Regions from separate parts of the Homo sapiens genome. Here region 2 is linked to region 1. The links are contacts of gene promoters, found by promoter capture Hi-C in human tissues and cell types (Jung and others, 2019). All regions are on one chromosome and are shown on one strand. The core of a region is centred on a gene start or on the middle of the fragment in contact, and the rest is flanking DNA. Distances in the headings are between cores, read along the strand shown.

Region 1 (3,432 bases), core at 1-2,500:
CATACGGTTTAGATAGTTAGATAGTTTCCTGCAATTAGGGCAGTCTTAATTCTGCATATTTCTATGCTAAATTACCATGCTCTGAAACACGCTTTGACAGCAAAAAAGCGAATGGATGCAGTAATGGAAACAATATCCAAGTTACAAAAATAAATAGCCCTGCTGTACTTAGCTCTGATTAGATCACTTCTGGGATAATACATTCAATTCAGGCACTACATATGAAACTAGAACTTATCCTGAAAATTAGGATAATTCTTTTTATTTGAGAGCTGTCACAAAGTTACTGCATTTAACCCTCACAATATCATGAAGCTGGTATGGCAGGCATGAATTCTATTTTAGAGATGTAGAAAATTGAGGCTCAGAGAAAACAGGAATGAATCTGGAAATTGAGCACAGCTATCACACACGTCCAAAATTTCATAAACCTTTAGAAAGTACTTGAAATTGGGGAAGGGTTTGGGAGGAGGGAGGGTTAAAAAACTCCCTTGAAAAACAGAGATTAGGAAGAACTATAACACTCTATCTATACACACAGATAAACACACACACTTGTGGAGGCAAAGACAGTTTGTGGAAGTCTACGTAAAGTATTGTTAGCAGTACTACTTTGAGGAGCAGAAGGGATGGACGAGGAAGACCCACTTAGTAGTTCCTTGAACTCTTGGAATTAAATTACTGCGCGCCTATACTACATAGAACACATGGCAGTTAAAGTTTTAGGCCGTCGCGCAAGAACTAGATGTATGCTGAGTGAACCCACGGAGCAGAGCACAGCCACGGAAGGGGAATGTACTATCCAGGAGCACACATTTCACTAAACGTCATTTAAAGAGCTGTCCAGCAGCGGAATATCGTCCCCAGAACCCGTGAGTTCCCGCCCTCCTGTCCTATCACTGTAGGAGGGGCCGACCAGAGGTCCGGGCTCGACCAAAGACCCCAAAGACCCTCCCAAAGCCGAACCCCCTCCTTCGAGCGCGGGGAGGGGCCGACTTGCCATTACCTCGCAGAGGGTGAAGAGTCCGTAGGCCGCCAGCCACACCGTGCAGGTGACAGCGGTGAGCGAACGCAGCGAGAGCCGAGGGCAGCTGAGGCAGAATTCCCGGCAGGACGGGGAGTAGTAGCGGCGCTGCAGCGCCAGGCGGCCGCCGCAGATATCCGAAAAGCTCCGCTCATCCTCCATGACGCCCCCACTCGGCCGCCCGCACCGCGCGGCGCTGCACTGCGCTCGCCGGCCCTGGCCGTCTCGCCCGCTCCAGACCCGCTTCCGGCAGCCGCGTCACCACGCCCCGCCCTAAGCCTGCGCAGCCTCAGTTGCGCGCCGAGAGCTCTGCTGGGGGCTGATGGTTGTGCGTTCTTCCGGGCCGGCCTTGACTGTCTTCGAAAAAACCTCGTCGGGGCAATAGTTAAGTGGAAAGATTAAAATCGTTTTTAGACCGGGCGCGTTGACTCAGGCCTGTAGTCCAGCACTGGGAGGCCAAGGCGGGAGGATCGCTTGAGCCTGGGAGGTCGAGGTTGCAGTGAGCGGAGATCATGCCCCTGCTCTCTAGCCTGTGCGAGAGAGCAAGACCCTGTCTCAAAACAAACCCACAGTTTGTTTTTGTTTTGAGACGGAATGGCGCGACGTCGGCTCACTGCAACCTGCTTCCCCCGGGTTCAAGCGATTCTCCTGCCTAAGCCTCCTGAGTAGCTGGGATTACAGGCGCGCGCCACCACGCCCTGCTGATTTTTGTATTTTTAGTAGAGACAGGTTTCACCATGTTGGCCAGGTTGGTCTCAAACTCCTGACCTCAGGTGATTCGCCCGCCTCGGCCTCCCGAAGTGCTGGGATTACAGGCGTGAGCCACCGCACCCAGCCCAAACCCACAGTTTTAATCATGCTTTTGCTTGGCAAGCCGATTTCTCTAAGCCAGAGTGAGCCGCAAGGAGAGCCCACGGGTATTCATTTCACTTACTCTTTTCCTGTGCCGGGTAGTTTGAGGTGCTTGAGGATGCAGCAGTGAACGATGTTGATGACAGTCTCTGCCCTCGGGCAGCTTCCTTTCTAGTAGGAGACAATATGGAAATAAGAGAGTATCGTTGGCAATACTATGCTGACTGGCAGGGATGGACTGAGGACTTTACATAGGGCAGTCAGGCGAAGTCTCTAAGTAAGAGGACACTGAGTTACAAGGGTGACGAGCCAGACAGGACTGAAGGAGCTCTGGAGGAGGAATTTGCCAGAAAGAAAGACCAGGAAAGGCAAACCCCTCGAAGTTGGAACAAGCTTGGCTTAATGAAATAATCAAAAGGCGAGAAAGGTTGGTGTGTGGGGAAAACAGTTGGAAGCTGGGGAGGCAGGTAGGGGTCAGATCCAAGAGGGTCTTGTAGGGTCTGGTAAGGAGTTTGGATTTCACTGCCTGGGAGTTCTGTCTCCCAAATGACTGCTTGGACCGTGGTAGACAGGCAAGACCTGGCTGGGAATTAAGCAGGAGCGGGAGATGCAGAAGAAATGGATAATAAAATTACTAAACTCATGAGTAATAGTGGCCTATGAGTTCCATTTTTACTTCTGATGTGGCCCAGGAGTGGCTATGTGGACTGTCAAAACACTTGTGATGGGCTGGGCATGGTGGCACATGCCTGTAATCTCAGCACTTTGGGAGGCTGAGGAGGGCAGATCACTTGGGTCAGGAGTTCAAGATCAGCCTGGCCAACATGGTGAAACCATCTCTACTAAAAATACAAAAAAATTACCTGGGCATGGTGGAGCATGCCTGTAATCCCAGCTGTTCGGGTGGCTGAGGCAGGAGAATCACTTGAACTTAGGAGTTCAAGACCAGCCTGGGCAACAGAGCAAGACTGTGTCTATATTCATTTAAAAAAAAAAAAAGATCCATGGCATAAAGGTCTCACCAGCTTTAAGTCTCTCTGATGAAAGGTTCCGTTTCTTCATCTTCATTCAGAATTTTATTTCCCTTTCTTTTTTCCTAAAGGATTTCTTCAAGCACTTCTTTATTTTTCTAGTTTTATTTCTGTGCCCCGAATCTGACAATTAATACACTCCTTTTATTAGTCCGTTTTCACACTGCTATAAAGAACTACCTGAGACTCGGTAATTTATAAAGAAAAGAGGTTTATTGACTCACAGTTCCACATGGCTGGCAAGGCCTCAGGAAACTTACAATAATGGTGGAAGGCAAAGGGGAAGCCAGGCATGTCTTACATGGCAGCAGGAGGGGAGTGGGGAAGTGCCACATTTTTAAACCGTCAGATCTCGTGAGAGAACTCACTCAGCATCACGAGACCAGCATGGGGGAAATCCGTCCCCATGATCCAATCACCTCCCACTGGGTCCCTCCCCTAACAAGTGGAGATTACAATTTGACATGAGATTTGGGTAGGCACAGAGAGCCGAACCATATCACCCCTTTTACTATTGCATATATC
Region 2 (3,219 bases), core at 147-2,646, 1.1 Mb before region 1:
GGAAATGAGAAAAAGTAGGTATAAAATAAGTAAAATTATATACCACAGACTTCTTTTACTCTCTCACCAAAAACATCAAAATGACCTGTTGATTCTGCCTCCTTGTTATCTATTCCTTGAATATCATCCACTTTCCTAGTACCACTGTGGTTTTGTTTTTGTTTTTGTTTTTTTCCCCAGGCCCTCCTTCCTGCCTGGATTACCATAGCCTCTTAATTGGTTTCCCCTGCTTCCAGTTCCTCTAATTCATCTTCCACAGTACCACTGAAGCTATCTTTTATAAAAGATAAATGAGATCATGTCATTCCCCTACTGGTTTCTCGCTGAAGTCCAAGGTCCTTCACAGACCATAAATGATATGCCTCCTGCCTACCTTCTCTGTCTCATCTTTCACTATGTCCCCCTTTTCTCATACATCCCACATTGAGCTCCACATTACTATTAATATTTACAGTTCTCCCCATGTATCATTAGTTCTATTAGGTCCATGCACAAAGTGGAAGGATACTTCTCTCCTTTAGCTATGACCATTGCCTGTTTGTCTTAAGGACTGAATGTGCTGCCCTTCTATCCCACTGATACTCAATCCTAGCTGTGTATTGGAATCCCCTTAAGAGCTTTGAAAAATAGCATTCTACTGGGCCCCGCCCCTGATAATTTAAATTATGGTAACTGAGCGATAGGGCAAAAGCATCCGTATTTTTTAAAAGCTTCTCAAGAAATTCTAATGGGCAATCAGGTTTGAGACTTGTTGCTAGGCTCTCTTACTTCTGTCACAGCACTAATTGAACTCTATCGCAATTATTGGTTTATCCAGCTACCTTCCTCATCAGGTGGTGAGCTCTTTGAGGGCCAGGATTCTATCTTGCTATCTTTTCATTTTGACTGCTTAACACAGTGCCTAGCATTTTAAAGAGGCTCAGTAAATGATATGTAGAAGGCCACAGAAAGTTAATTTCCAAGTCCCAGGTCTCTCGATGTCTTGCCTTGTGTTAATTACCACGGGATTATATCATAGTTCCTGAGATCTTCAGATATTTTCTTTCACTCTAAGTTGTCATTAATTTCCTATCTCATGTCAGTATAGAAGAGTTGATTTGTCACAAAACACTTCATAATCTGTAGGAATCCCTCATACTTTCTGGTAATAAGCAAAGTGAGCCAGCCAATTCAAAATCTTCTTTTTCTCAATGTCAATTTAAATCTTTAAAGATGCATTTTAAATATGAATTTTTAAATGTACTTTTGCACTGGAAACGGTTTACAAGAAATCACAGAATTTTGGCATTAGAAGGAACTTTAAATAACTATAAAGTTTCCTTCACTTTCCAAAAAAGGATACTGGAGTTCAGATACATTGAAAAGGTGTCTAAATTCCTACAGTTAATTGGGGCCAGGGCTGGTTACCAGAGCCTAGGTATTAATACTGCCAGTTCATATTCCAATCTAAATTGTATCTTTCCTCTCCTAACCACAAAAATAATGGCCTCTAAAACCCTGAGGTGATTAGTTTAATATTCTACCAACTGAGTTAGTGGAGTATGTAATTTACATTGTTTCAAGAAAGCCATCACTGTACTTATTTAGTCCCTGGGAGATTCTGGCAGTCCTGAGAGATTTTCCAAGTCAATTGGATTAGACAGAGCAATGAGAACAAAAGATGAAAATATAAAATCTGAATGTACTACTGATTACCTTGAACTAGTCATTTAACCTCAGGGCTTTAGATTCCCAATTTTAAAATTAAATTAAAAGAGCATCATTTGAATGTTTTAAAATTATGGGTTTGTTTTTTTTTTTAACCACTACAGTGAGTTTGAATTCGTATATGACCTCCCTCCTTTTTTTTTTTTTTCTTGTTTGTTGTTAACTAAGGCATGGAATAAAGTAGTTTACTTGGTAGCTGAGGTTGTAACTTCTTAAAAAGTGAATTATTTGCCATTGCCAAAGTATTTACATTTTATGTTCATTACCAGTCAGGCTTAACATCTTTCCTTCAAATGTTCCAAACCTTTCAATTTTTTCAAAACACAAAACTGGGATAGCCTGTTATCCTACTTTGTCTTTAGGACTTTATATTGGACTCTGACTTTCATAAGGGCAGTATAAAGTTATCAGTTAGATTGGGTGACTCCTCATGAGTGTCTGCATTTCAGTGAATCCAGGAAATGGATCTCAGTTTTGTGAGTACAGACAAATTTATATGGTCAACTTATTCAAAAGGTCAGAGACTTATTCAAGCTACTCAAACTCCCAAGAGATTAACTGATACACCCAATATTAAATTACAGAGAGGGCTATTACCTTACAATTTGGTGGGAATATGTCTATATTTAGGGTATTCCTATCTCCAAATCAAGTTATAGTAAACTGAACTAGTAATCAAAAAGTACTTGGGATTGAAACATCATTATTATAGTTTTATTTGTGCTCATAATATTCTGATTATATTCCTCTGAGAATAAAATCTCTGATAACCTTAACCACATATGGGCAATACTTTTCAATTTCAAGGTCAATTGAGGAAAAACCTGTCCCACCAGCAATACATTTACAAATCGTAACTTTGGGTAGACTATTTTTGTAACTTATCTCATTTATTTTATCTTGACTTTCTAGCCATGCAGAGGATATCAGCTAACATTCTATCCCAAAAAGTTGCCTTTTTGCATTGCCAGAAAGTGATTAGTAATGTCTGTCACACTTCCTAAATGAAATAAGGCCAACAACAGCCTGATACTTTCATCTTTAGTCTAGAATTGCAATAATCAAAGAGGGGAAGCGACAACACATAACATTTTGCCTTACACTCGTAGATCCAGGCAGAAAATCTAGTTTTAGTGTTGTTTATGTGAACAGTGGCCACCTTAGGTGGTGTCTCTCCTTTTATTGGTAGAGGCTTCTGTAACCTGTTGCACGCCAAGTAAAATCTCTATTGGTCCCTCTGGCACCTTGGAAGGAGCCTGCATTGCTACCAATTCAAAGTCCCTGTTGATTCATATGTTCTGTATTTAGTCAACAAATATTAGGAAATGGGAAGAGAACAAGGTCCCGTGCTGGAAAGGGAGGCTTGGTCTGCAACCAGTCAATTTCACGGCAGGAGATGCACAGGCAGATACATATGAAATATAATTATTACATGGCAAAAGTGAGAATTTTTCAGGACAACTAAAAATCCATCTTCTCTACTTCTTTCACAAATTCACTTATGATTCCTAA

What was found. The method cuts DNA at HindIII sites, captures the fragments that hold promoters and counts their contacts. A contact is called where the count stands out against the background at its distance.
Region 2: a fragment that was not itself captured here is called in contact with the fragment with the promoter of PIGH in region 1 in 1 of the 25 tissues and cell types used here (lymphoblastoid cells).

What each region holds. Positions count from the first base shown.
Region 1 is chr14:67,599,018-67,602,449 of GRCh38, forward strand. It overlaps PIGH (phosphatidylinositol glycan anchor biosynthesis class H), which reads right to left and starts at 1,251. Exons shown (of 4, transcript NM_004569.5): 1 at 1,007-1,251. The coding sequence starts at 1,186. It also overlaps a transcript of GPHN not described here. RefSeq lists an enhancer at 929-1,248. The HindIII fragment of the contact is 9,090 bases long and covers 1-3,432 here.
Region 2 is chr14:66,498,796-66,502,014 of GRCh38, forward strand. No RefSeq gene overlaps it. Among named protein-coding and RNA genes, the nearest start is that of GPHN, 7.7 kb to the right of the region's middle. The HindIII fragment of the contact is 5,867 bases long and covers 1-3,219 here.